Linked DNA regions of Homo sapiens: region 1 is linked to region 2. The links are contacts of gene promoters, found by promoter capture Hi-C in blood cells and fetal thymus (Javierre and others, 2016). All regions are on one chromosome and are shown on one strand. Each heading gives the region's core, a stretch centred on a gene start or on the middle of the fragment in contact. The rest is flanking DNA. Distances are from core to core; before and after follow the strand shown. Region 1 overlaps INPP4A (inositol polyphosphate-4-phosphatase type I A). Region 2 holds the start of TMEM131 (transmembrane protein 131).

Region 1 (5,879 bases), core at 762-3,261, 510 kb after region 2:
TCCTGGCTGCTCTATATAGTGTCTTAGCCAGGCTAGCAGGAGTTCCCATGACTGTCCTTACCATGATGGCATCGTCACTGCATCCCCTGGGTTGAGGGGGTGGGTGGTGAGGGCATGGGGTGAATGCAAAACACTGTACGGCAAGGCAAAGGACATTGCTGTGGCTGGGATGTGGGCCGCCCACTTTGCATTCTGTCCTGAGAAGCCATGAGCAGCTGCAGCCACACCTCTCCTGAAAGGGAAGAAGGAGAGAAGCAGAGCTCGGGTTAGAGGCTGTTCTAGTGGCTGGGGCAAGTCAGGGTCCAGCTTCCAGGTGGCCAGCTCTGGGCAAGGGAAGCAGGAGCAGGCACCAGGCCAGGCCTGACAGCTTTGTGTTTGGGTGGAAGAAGAAAAGGGAAGAGAAATCACCATCTTTGGCAATGAATAAGGCACACCCAGCCTGCTTTGGGGTTTAGAGCCTCCTGCACTCCCGCCTCCACCATAGAGGAGCCAGACTGGGTTCATGCTCCACAGTCTTCCAGCTGCGTCTCCTGGAATGAACCTTTGAGTAACAACTCTGAGTGAGTGATGATACCCCCCTTATTGTGGACCCACACTCAGAGATAAGCCCAACTCACAGGTCACGGGGAAGCCCGTGTCCTTATCTCTTCAGTTCCCGGCCCTCTTGGAGCAGCATGTCTCCTTTGATGAGGGGGTTGAAATACTGGATGCTTTCCTCGGTCCTTTCATACACTTATTCAGAAATTTATGTGACACGCTGGAAGGACTTCCTGGACAACAGACGGGCAAACTTTCAGTTAATTGTGTGAGGGCTTCAAGTGGTTTCAAGTGACAATGGAGTAAGAAATGAGACTTGTCAAAGTCCTTGCCTGTTGTAGGAGAGAGAACCGCGCTGCTCCTGGTGCACGCTGACTGCAGTCCTAACCACGCAGCTCTGACAGCAGACCGCCATGTACAGTGTTCCTGTTGTCTTTGTCTGTGGTATTGTGAAATTGATGTGGTAATCAAATGACGAATGAGGCCTGGTGCGCGGGAGTGAGAGGGGTCATGTATGGGAACACTGGGTTGATTCACCTCAAGAAAAAGCCCCAGAATCCCTGGCTGCAGAACCCAGGGGTGCCGCTGCCTGGAAAGGACAGAGTAGCAAGCCAGCCCCTCACCCAAGGGAAGGCTTCAGAAGAGGCTTGGCCCCCACCATTGTGGGCCTCAGGTTGTCTACCATTCATCTTTGTTACACTTTGTGATGTAGCTCTGGACCAAGCCTCTTATCATCTTTGTATCCCTAAGGCCTGCTCCATAATAGACCCTCAACTGTTTGTTAAAGCAGGAGTCCACAGTCCCCGGGCTGCAGACCAGTACTGGCCTGTGGCCTGTTAGGAACTGGGCTGCACAGCAGGAGGCGAGTGGCAGGCATTACTGCCTGAGCTCCACTTCTTGTCAATCAGCGGTGGCATTAGATTCTCGTAGGAGCACAAACCCTGTTGTGAACTGCGTATGTGAGGGATCTGGGTTGCGTGCTCCTTATGAGAATCTAACTAATGCCTGATGATCTGAGGTGGAACAGTTTCGTCGCGAAACCACTCCCCTTGACCAGCCCCCCAAAATTGTCTTCCACAAAACCAGTCCCTGGTGTCAATAAGGTTGGGGACTGCTGTGTTAAAGAGATTGCCAGTTTACAGAGAAGAAACAGCATGAGGTGCAGAAGCAAGAAATTGGAGGTGCTGAAGAAAGAGTGGCTGAAGTGTGTGGTGTGGAAGGCAGTCGGCAGATCCCCGCCCACCCCAGGCTGCTCCTGGCACCTCCCAGACATTGCGCTTGTGATTATTGACACATCTCACTCATCTCCCAGATTGTGAGCACCTGTTTTGCTCAGCACAAACATTTTAAAGCACTTTTTTCAGGGCAACTTATTTTCAAACTGCTTCTTACAGAAAATCCCCTGAACGTTCATGGTATATGGGTGAACCACAAGGAGCTGAGCTGCAGTTGTAAACTGGGCTGTCCCAAAGAACTCCAGGAGAAGCTGGGAACCAAGAAGGACATAAAAGAAGTGAGGGAATTGCCTGCCTTGTTATCTGAGGAAGGGCAGTCCCAGAGAGGGTGGCTGATGCAAAGGCCACACCAGATAAAAGTCTAAACAGCAAAGAGGCCAGGGCAGGAGCAGGATGAAGACACTGCTAGGAGGTTCACAGGCCCCGTCATTGCAGTTGGACACAGACTGTGAGGACTGTGGGAGGGACGCTGGTCAAATTCCCAGGGTATGGGAGTTGGGGTACTAAGGGAGTTGAAGTCGTACTTGTGGGGAAGATAGAGCTAATAGAGTTGTCAATGGATTGGATGTGGGATGTGAGAGGAGGAGGAGGCCAGGATGTTATTTCTTGCCTGGAGCAAGTGGAAGGACAGAACTCCATCTACTGAGATGGGAAACCTTGAGGGGCTGGTGAGGTGAAAGAGGAAGGCTGGAACGGTCTGGGCTTGTTCTGCTCCTGGAGCATCCTCCTCTGCCCTCTTGTTTACAGGGATATCCATGTCCCTATCCAAGGTATCTCAGTCAGTTCAGGCTGCTATAACAAAATAACTGAGACTGGTAAACAGCAGAAATGTACTTCTTAGACCTGTGGATGTTGGGAAGGCGCTGGCATTTAGGGTCTGCTGAGGGCCTTCTTGCCATGTCCTCACATGACAAAAGGTGAAGGGCAAAAAGGGCCTACCTAGTTCCCTCCAGCCCTTTCATACAGCACTAATCCCACCTATGAGGCCAGAGCCCTCAGGGTCTAATCACCTCCCAAAGGCCCCGCTTCTTAATACTATCACATTGATGGCTACATTTCAACATAAGGAATTCTGGGGGACACATTCAGACTGTAGCACAGTGACTGACTCCCTCCATTGGAGTCTGGGATGTGCATTTGTATTCTGGTTCAGGCCCTGTATTATAGTAGTAAGCATATTTATTAAACTAATGAGGCATGTCAGTTAAGTAAATGAAGTTAACTCATTGCCATTGCTGCCTGTCCATCATCACTGGCAGACAGTAGGGCTTGGGAAATGGAAAGCCAGAGATAAATGAACATCTCCCAGTGAGCACAAGCTCGGGGGCCCTAAGTCAGGTCATTTGTGTCTGCAGGTGAGAAGGGATACGCATTGCCAGCATGTTACTTCTCTTCCTGTGCTTGATTCAATTTTTTTTTTTTTGAGATGGAGTCTCGCTTTGTTGCCCAGGCTGGAGTGCAGTAGTGCGATCTGGGCTCACTGCAACCTCCACCTCCCGGGTTAAAGCGATTCTTCTGCCTCAGCCTCCCAAGTAGCTGGGACTACAGGCACGTGCCACCACGCCCAGCTAATTTTTTGTATTTTTAGTAGAAAGGGGTTTCACCACGTTGGCCAAGATGGTCTCGATCTCCTGACCTTGTGATCTGCCTGCCTTGGCCTCCCAAAGTGCTGGGATTACTGGGCCCCTGTGCTTGATTTTTCTAAAGCACATTACTTTCCTGTATTTAAGCCCTAGCAGCGTTGGATGGATGTTTTGCAGCATGCTTGGGTGTTAAGTGTCCTTTGAGTCAGAGCTTTACTCACAGTGACCCTCTCCTGCCCTGTGCAGGTATAGAGAGCTGGGAGGTGGGAGGTGGGAGAGGGCTGGGCCCCAGCTCTGAGGGGAGGAGGAAGCAGACCTCTTCAGTACAAGAGGACCATGATGCTGCCCCCTCAGAACATGGATGTCTATCCTGGAGGGACAGAGCACCCACCTCACTTCCCTGGGAGTCCAGGGTCCACTCACACTCCTCTGATTGGGAGACTCTGAATTCCTTCCAACAGTAGTCGTAACTTCATTTGACAGGCGAGGAAACTGATGCACAGAGATGGGACCCTGTGGAAGGTCACATGCTTCACAGCGGTTCACCAGGTCTGATGCCATTGCCTGGGCTCCCCTCCCCCATGCCACCAAGCCATATTGCTTCAAGGAACAGGCCTGTGCTCTCATGTTCCTTTTCAATAGCAACCTTTGGGCCTAATTTTTGGTGATTATAAACTGTAGCGCAAGCAAAGTACCGTGGACCTTGGTGAAAAGTTCCGGTTGGAGGAACTGGAGAAGGTAGGAAAGTTGGGTAAAACTCACATAGACTTAGCTGTAGAGAAAGGGCTTCCAGGCTCACAGATGGCTCCAGTACAAGCGCTGTGGGGGCCAGCCTCAGGGGAGGTTAGGAAAAGCCAAGGTGAGAACCTCACATGCCAAGGTGACAACCTCACAGGGCTGACAGCCCATGTACTGAGCTCTATGCGGATGTTTTCTGTGTTTCTTCACATATGTGCTTGCTCCTCAGTGTGTCCTGGTGAGACCAGTGTTATTTCCGTTATACAGAAACTGAGGCTGAGAGAAGCTCAGCAGCTCTTTCACCTATGGGGGAGGAGGGATCTGAAGTGGGATTAGCTGAGCAAGTGGGTGGATTCCTGAGGCCCCACTCTGGGCCTCACAGGTTGATCCAAGGGTTTAGTCTGCGGAAGGGCAGGTGTTGACACCTGTCTTAATCCATTTTCTGCTACTCCAACAACATACCACAGCCTGGGTAGTTTGTAAAGAAAAGCAACTTATTTCTTACAGTCTGGAGGCTGGGAAGTCCTGGAGCATGGTGCCCGCATCTGGTGAGGGTCTTCCCATGGTGGAAGAGTGGAAGGTGGAAGCCAGCATGAGAGACAGAGAGGAAATCGGGCTAAACTCCCGATTTATCGGGAATCCACTCCCCTCACTCCTACAGAAACAGCATTAATCCATTCATGAGGACAGAGTCCTCGTGTCCTAATCACCTCTTAAGTGCCCCGCCTCCCACTACTGTTAGAATGACAATTAAGTTTTCAACACAGGAACTTTGGAGAACACGTTCAAACTGTATCAAGAGCCTTTTGTGGACCAGGGTGCTGGGGGCCTGGTGGGCTTGGAGCCAGAGCCCCGAGAGGCATGAGGAAGGCCTTCCTGAGACCCCTCCCAGGTCCCCTCCACCTTGTCCGTGTTCCTGCAGCATGTGGCCTTTCCATCCTAGTTAATACCTGGGCCTTTGAGGCAGCATTTTTTGTTTTTGTATTTTATGCTAGAGAAGCATATTTGACTTTGTTTAAAAGGTTAAGATCTTTCCTAAGCAGATGGCTTTTGTTTGAAAGAAAAAAAAATGGAAGGCCTGCTTGCTTCCACTATTCCCTTGCACCGTAGGATGGGGAAGGACACCCAGGGTTGGAGTAGTCTCCAAAGTGGGCAAATTAGAATCAAGGACCCCAACTGCTGTATCGTAGGCCCAACTCCTCCTGCATCGCCTCCCAGAATCAGTCCTTCTGCTTTTATGACCCATGCCAACCCCACAACCCCTTCCCACTTGACATCAGATGGCAGTTTTCTCCAGTGTTCAACATCCTCTTCTTCCTGGGCGGCCCCCTCAAGTTGGCCATATTTAAGGAAGAATGAGTTTTGGTGTGTTCTCATCTCATGGTCACACGCTCTTCTTCTCATACCTGTTTTATCATTTGCTTTGCATTAAAAGTTGATTCATAGCACTTAACTTTCTCATTGGTTATGTAGAGACATTCATTCACTCACTCACTCACTCACTCACTTACTCACTCATTCCAAATATAAACCAGAGGAAGTTTCTGCTGCCATTGGCTATTGCTCTGGAATACTTGGAAGCAGGCCTTCCTGGTCTTTGCTGTATGCAGCACGTACCTTGGCTGGTGACAGACCTGAGCGGATGCTTGGGAGCAGAATGTGAGCTGTTGTGGCAAGCCTGCACACAGGCCAGTGCTGCCTTGTCTTTGGAGTGGAGCCTCCAGTTTGCTGGTCACCTTGGGCTTGGCCATTCTGGAGTTACTGCTCCTGTTCTCTCTGTTGGCCT
Region 2 (6,049 bases), core at 1,215-3,714:
TTTCTGGAGATACCTTCACAGAATATTTGATTAGAACCAGATCTGTTTATGATGGGTAGAGGCCTATGTTCTATATCAGCATCATCTCCATTAATATCTTGGATAACCGCACACACAAATTGTTCATACAGAAAAGCATGGGCCACAAAGGATATCTGATTCACCCAGGCCACTGGCTGATTCAACCACCCCTTTAATACATACTTAACACCCTGGCAAGTATTCTCCTCATCCAATCCTTACACACATTTATGGGTATTAGAGAGGTGCACTAACATGTATAAACTATGCAAATGAGAAATTAGCAAATATATTTTAGGCTGACAGTTCTCAAACAAAAGGTTTGTTTACTTAACTTTACCCAGAGTAAAGTTTTTATTAGCATATAAAATGGCTGTTGGAAAAATCAGCAGCAGTAGAAGGAAAATACAAACTTAATGCTTTACTAGATTCAACCATTATTTCAATTCCCTGTGCTAAGGGCGCATGAAGACAGTCATTCACTCAAAGGCTAAGCGCCAGTGTGTCTGGCACTGTGCAAGGTAAGCAAAGGAACAGAAAAACAAGGACACAATACCCACCAAGGTCTACTTGAAGTCCCACCCAAAAAATGTCCATTAAATTACTGCACTATTTTGGGTTCACTGAACACCCACTACAGGCCAAAATGCTAGGTGCCACGATCACACATAAGAAAGAACACTCAACTAACTGCAGATCTGTGGCCAATGATGTATTATGACAACCCCAGGACCGACTAGTCCTAAAGCGGCAATATTTTATTCTGGAAATAATTTTGCTTCCATCAATTAATCCTTTCTATAGACGACAATTCTTTGAATAATTTCCACCAATGTTAACTCAGACTAAGGTTGCTTAGAGAGTTAGATAAGGGAATGTAATGTGGACAAAAATAAAAGAAACAGTATACTGAAGCACATTTGCACTTTAATACTAATTTGGTTTGTATTTGCTTTCACCTTCAGCAACAATAAAAAGCAAGTGACTTTAGTCATAAAGTAGAATGTTAACTCTAAAATTACCGTGGCAAGAAATTGTTTTCTTGTACAGGCAGTTTCATGTGCAATGCTAAACTAACAAGTTTTGCGTGGTTTGTTTTTTTTTTAAACTATTCACTTAGTCAATTCTTCATGAAGGCTCTGTGACCATTCACATGTCCCTTGGCTCAAAAAGAGGTAGTGTAGATGAAATTACACTGATTTGGTCTTCAAGATTACAAAATAATTTTTGACCCTGTCCAAGTACCCGTTTTGCAGCAGTACAATACTAATGAGATTTTTAAAATAGGGGCCAGCCCTTAACTGTAAATTATAGATAAATGCTTGCAAGCTGGCAACTTCACGTTTATTTTTAAAGGCTTTCACATCAAAGATAAAGGCACCGAATCACGTATTTTAAAATAAGAAATGTAAACAGGCTTTCAACAGCTTACTAAAGAGTTAAATGGAATTGTATTTAGGTCTAATAATAAAGTTATCAATAACGCAGAGACACTAAAGGAGGAAGCTACAGGACCAAGATTTCCCCTCGAAGAAATGTCTGAACAAATTCAAAGTGAAATTTTTTAAGCTGTGTCTCGCTATTTTTACCACATTTTAAAGTAAGCTCTGTCTGCATGCAACCAACCGCAACCAAGAAAACAGAAGTGTCCTAAAATGTACCTATTCGCCGCAATAAAGCCAAAAAATATGCCCCTCCTACCTAGCGGGCCAAGTGGCAAGAACGTACGAGAAGTCAGGAAGTTTTGAAATGGCAGTGACAGGAGACGGGGGAAGGCACGGGAAGGAATCACGGAGAGCGAAGGCCACTCCGTGCGGCGGGCGCCGCGAGGTCCCGGCTCGGGACGGTACCCGACCGCCCAACTTTGCGCCGGAGCCCCGGCCGCGGCCCTTCCTCCCGGCCCAGCCCTCCCGGCCTCCGCGAGAGCGGGGTGACAGCCCCGCCGCAGGGACGCCGCCGGGGGACACCCACCTTCCTTCTCGGCCCGCGCCGCAGCCACTACGAGGGTCATCACCAGGTGCAGCGCGCCTAGGAGGCCGGCGGCCGCGCTCCGCGGGCCCCCGCTACGGGCGGCCGCAGGTTCCAGCCCGGCCCCGGCGGACGTGGAGACGGCGGCGGTGGTGGCTCCGGTTGCTCCTCCTCCCGCCCGCTTCCCCATCCCTGCCGGCCGGGGGCCGCCGCGCTCGAGGTCCGGCGCGGCCCTTCTCGGCGAGGCGGCGGCGGCGCGGAAGCCGTGGTCCGGGCTCTGGCCGCGGCGCCGGGAGCGACAACGGTTGCGAGCCCGGGGCTCGATCTCCGAGCGTGGGCCTGGGTCCGTGCGTGCGTGTGAGCGAGAGTGTCAGTCACGGTCTTTGCCTGGGCATCGCCTACAAGCAGTCGGAGCGGAGAGGCCGCGGGTCAGGCGCGGCGGGCGGCCATACTGGAAACGGGCACGGCCCGCGAGCCCTGAGCGCTGGCCTGCGAGGGGCGGGGCGCGGCTCTGGGCACCGCCCACGCTGTGCCGACACCTGGGCTGTCCGGCGGTCAGTCTGTCCGCCCCGGAGCCCCCTGGGCCCCACCTCCTCGTCCCGCTCTCGGAGGCCTGCGGCTTCACGGCCAGACAGAACCAGGACAGAACAACCCCAGCCCGTTACCGCTACCTGGCGCAGGAGAAGGAGGGAGGCAGGCCCAGGTCCAGCTGCCAGGACTTATGATGGCGGCTTCTGCTTCGCGGAGGCGGTGTCGGCAATCACGTGGAGACGGGGCGGCCTCGCCGCGCAGCCGCCGCGTTGCGTGGGCGGGGCAGGGGCGGAGTTGCGGGGCGCTAACCTCTTCTCCGGCGCCTGGGCAATCCTCCGTGCTCTGTCCTACAGTGGTAGAGCCTTCCAGGGGTGTGAGTGCGCATACAGACCGCGAGACGAGCGCGGAAGGTCCGTTCCAGTGACTCTTCCTGGTGGCACCCCCACCTCTCGACCGCTTTGACGTCGAGAATACCCCGGGCCTGACTCAGTTCTTGATGGTGCTTCCTTGAGGATGGTGGCCCGCTGAACTCATCCTTGGGTCTTCCAAATCATGGTACCCAGGAGGAGCTTGATGGAGTCCTCTTGCCTTGGCTTGTGCCCACATTGGCGCGGAACACCTCGTGTGCAGAAAGCGTCGGTGACTCTGGATGGAGAAGGCAGGGGCAAACAGACTGCTCTTTAGAATATCCAGTAGCCGGCTTCCTCTCTCGAGGAAGAATTCTTTTTTTTCTTTTCTTTATTTTTTAATTATTTATTTATTTTTGAGACAGGGTCTGGTTCTGCCGCCCAGGCTGGAGTGCAGTGGTGCGGTCTGGGACTACAGGCACCCGCCACCACGCCACGCCAATTTTTCTTTTTCTTTTAAGAAACGCTGTCTCACTATGTTGGCCGAGCAGGTCTCGAACTCCTGGGCTCAAGCAGTCCGCCTTCCTCGGCCTTCCAGAGTGCTGGGATCACAGGCGTGAGCCACTGTGCTGGGCCCGGAAAAATTCTTAAGACGTCTGTTACCTTCACGAGCCATCTCGCGCCTCTTAGATGCCCTTTTCATCTTAGGTTGAGCTTCTTGGTGCGCATGGCTGTTGTCTCCAAGACTTAATTTAAGCTCTTGGAGGGGGTCCTTCTTTACTCATCTTAGTAACTTCCTCCCAGCTTGTAGCCCAGAGACATTTTACTTTCCTTAGCTGTATTTGTTGAGTGAGTCGATATATGTGTAAGGCCAAGTCTGCCCACAGTACGTCTCAGAACAAGCTAGATAGGAAAATAAGGTTTCAGAAAGACAAAAGGAACTCCAGAATCTACTCTATGAAGTAGTCCCCTGTGTCAAGCAAGCACTTAAATTTATTCATAAATTAATATATATTTAAATATGACCTTAGCCTAATGATTTTAAAAAGCAATTTTAGGGCAGGGCGCAGTGGCTCACGCCTGTAATCCCAGCACTTTGGTAGGCCAAGGTGGGCGGATCACCTGAGGTCAGGAGTTCGAGACCAGCCTGGCCAACATGGTGAAAACCCGTCTCTACTAAAAAATATAAAAATTAGCCGGGCGTGGTAGTGCATGCCTGTAATCCCAGCTACTCCGGAGGCAGGAAAAACGCTTGAACCCGGCAGGTGGAGGTTGCAGTGAGCCAAGATAGCGCCACTGCACTATACCCTCGACAAGAGCAAAACTCCGTCTCAAAAAATTAATCATAAGCAATTTTACTTTTTTGAATATTAGCCTTAAAATTGAGTAGTCAAATTTTATTTTGATGTAATGAAATAGGAATAATTATCTCTTAAGTTGGCGTTTAAAATGTCTGAGGCAAGAGATTTCTGGAAGGCTTTTGACTCACGGAAGAGATCAAACCCAAGGATATGTAACTGAGCGCTTTTGCTTAGCCTCCAACGTGCTAGCTCTGCAAGTCAGCAGCCCTTCCCCCATGGCCAGATTCAGGACAAACAAGCCTTTCCAACCATGAAGTGCTGAGGTTCTCTTACACAGCAATCAGCCACATCCCCTGGTTAGCCTGAGGCTCAGCAGCTCCATGGGAAATAACTTGCACCTGTCTGTAATTGGATCTTTAGACGTATACAGACATGTTTGATCAGAGTTCGATTTCCCATGCAGCTAATGAAGCTTAAGCCGCAGGGCCCCCTCTCTTGCACAAGTTCCTTCCAAGTCCCTGAACCTAATTGTGTATTTATAAGCCTGTATTCTTGTTCTTAAAGGAGCCCTCCCAATAGTTGGGTAGGCTTTTAAGGCCCACCATACCTGAACCCTCCCCTGTGCCTGAGGGACACTAGGAGCAGGAGGGGTGATGATGGAACTTTCCTCCCAGGAAAGGACAATGAGGCCACTGAGAGTCTAACAGTGAAAGACGTTTTGCTAGACAGCATGGTAAACTGTGTGTTAGAGAGAACCTGGCGTGGAGCCACCATCACCCTATGATCCTCTACCCCCACTCCCCAACCCTCATGTGTCTCAGGAGAGAACCAGGAGTTAAAATTGAAGGAACCATCACACTAAGGACTCTCAAATAGTTCTGATTAGTTGTGAACTTTTCTCTTTTTCCCTTTTGGAAATTGGAGAGACCTGGCCATTTGGCAGGTGGAGGTATTAGCTGGCAGAGTCAGGGAAAACTCGCTAAACCAGTGGTTCTCAAGGTGTCATCCCCAGACCAGCTGTAGCAGCAACACCTGGGAACCTGTTAGAAGTGCAAATTAGCAGGCCAAATCCCAGACCTGTGGAATCAGGAATTCTGGGTTGAGGTCCAACAATCTGTTTAAACAAGGCATCCAAGTGATTCTGATACAGGCTCAAGATTGAAGACTGTTGCACAGTGATATATGCCAGGAGCTACAAGCTGTTGGGACTCCTCACTTTCTGTTCATTTTGCTCTCTATGCAGGTTAGTAATTTACCATTCAAGGCAGAATTATAAGAGACTCAGACAAATTTGAACTTAAATCCCATCCCTGCCTTTACTAGCTATATGATGCTGAGCAAATGACTTTTCTGGCCTCAGATTCCTAATCTGTAAAAATGGGGATTATGATATAAATTTGGGGAGATTAAGCATATAGGTTTGTGAAGCATATAGACTAGTGTCTGGGACATAGGAGACTGTCAAAAGTAGCTATTAGTGAGCACTCACTCTTTTCAAAACACCACATTAGGCACGAAGATCCTTGATCCATTGATACCTCCACTTCATTCCACAAAATACTTAAGGAGGTGTGCAAGAATGCCTTCTATGAATTAAAACTGGAACTAGGAGGGAGTAAACTGTTGGGCTTTCCAGGGTTCTATCTCCTTTGCTGCATAGGTGAATGCACCTGGTATCCTGCCGTTCAACACCATCTATACACTTTCAGGTCCCCACTTCATGTCACCAGCCAGACCTCGCTGTCTCTATTGCTGTTCCCACTCAGGTGTATAATGAGGTGTCTTAAACTCACATGAACTCCACATCTTCCCATGCAAACATGCTTCACCCACAGCCTTTCCTATCTCCAGGGCAACTCCAACCATCCAGTTGCACAGGCC

The links. The method cuts DNA at HindIII sites, captures the fragments that hold promoters and counts their contacts. A CHiCAGO score of 5 or more calls a contact.
Region 1: a contact is called between a fragment that was not itself captured here and the fragment with the promoter of TMEM131 in region 2, in 1 of 17 cell types (neutrophils). The highest score is 6.1, in neutrophils.

The regions. Positions count from the first base shown.
Region 1 is chr2:98,507,883-98,513,761 of GRCh38, forward strand. All of the region lies in intron 1 of INPP4A (inositol polyphosphate-4-phosphatase type I A), which reads left to right. Among named protein-coding and RNA genes, the nearest start is that of INPP4A, 66 kb to the left of the region's middle. RefSeq lists an enhancer at 440-499. The HindIII fragment of the contact is 9,429 bases long and covers 1-5,879 here.
Region 2 is chr2:97,993,484-97,999,532 of GRCh38, forward strand. It overlaps TMEM131 (transmembrane protein 131), which reads right to left and starts at 2,465. Exons shown (of 41, transcript NM_015348.2): 1 at 1,993-2,465. The coding sequence starts at 2,179. It overlaps LOC124905591 (a long non-coding RNA gene), which reads left to right and starts at 4,160. Exons shown (of 2, transcript XR_007087148.1): 1 at 4,160-5,411. RefSeq lists enhancers at 499-578, 2,211-2,724, 2,895-3,174 and silencers at 1,755-2,314, 2,425-2,674. The HindIII fragment of the contact is 7,821 bases long and covers 1-4,638 here.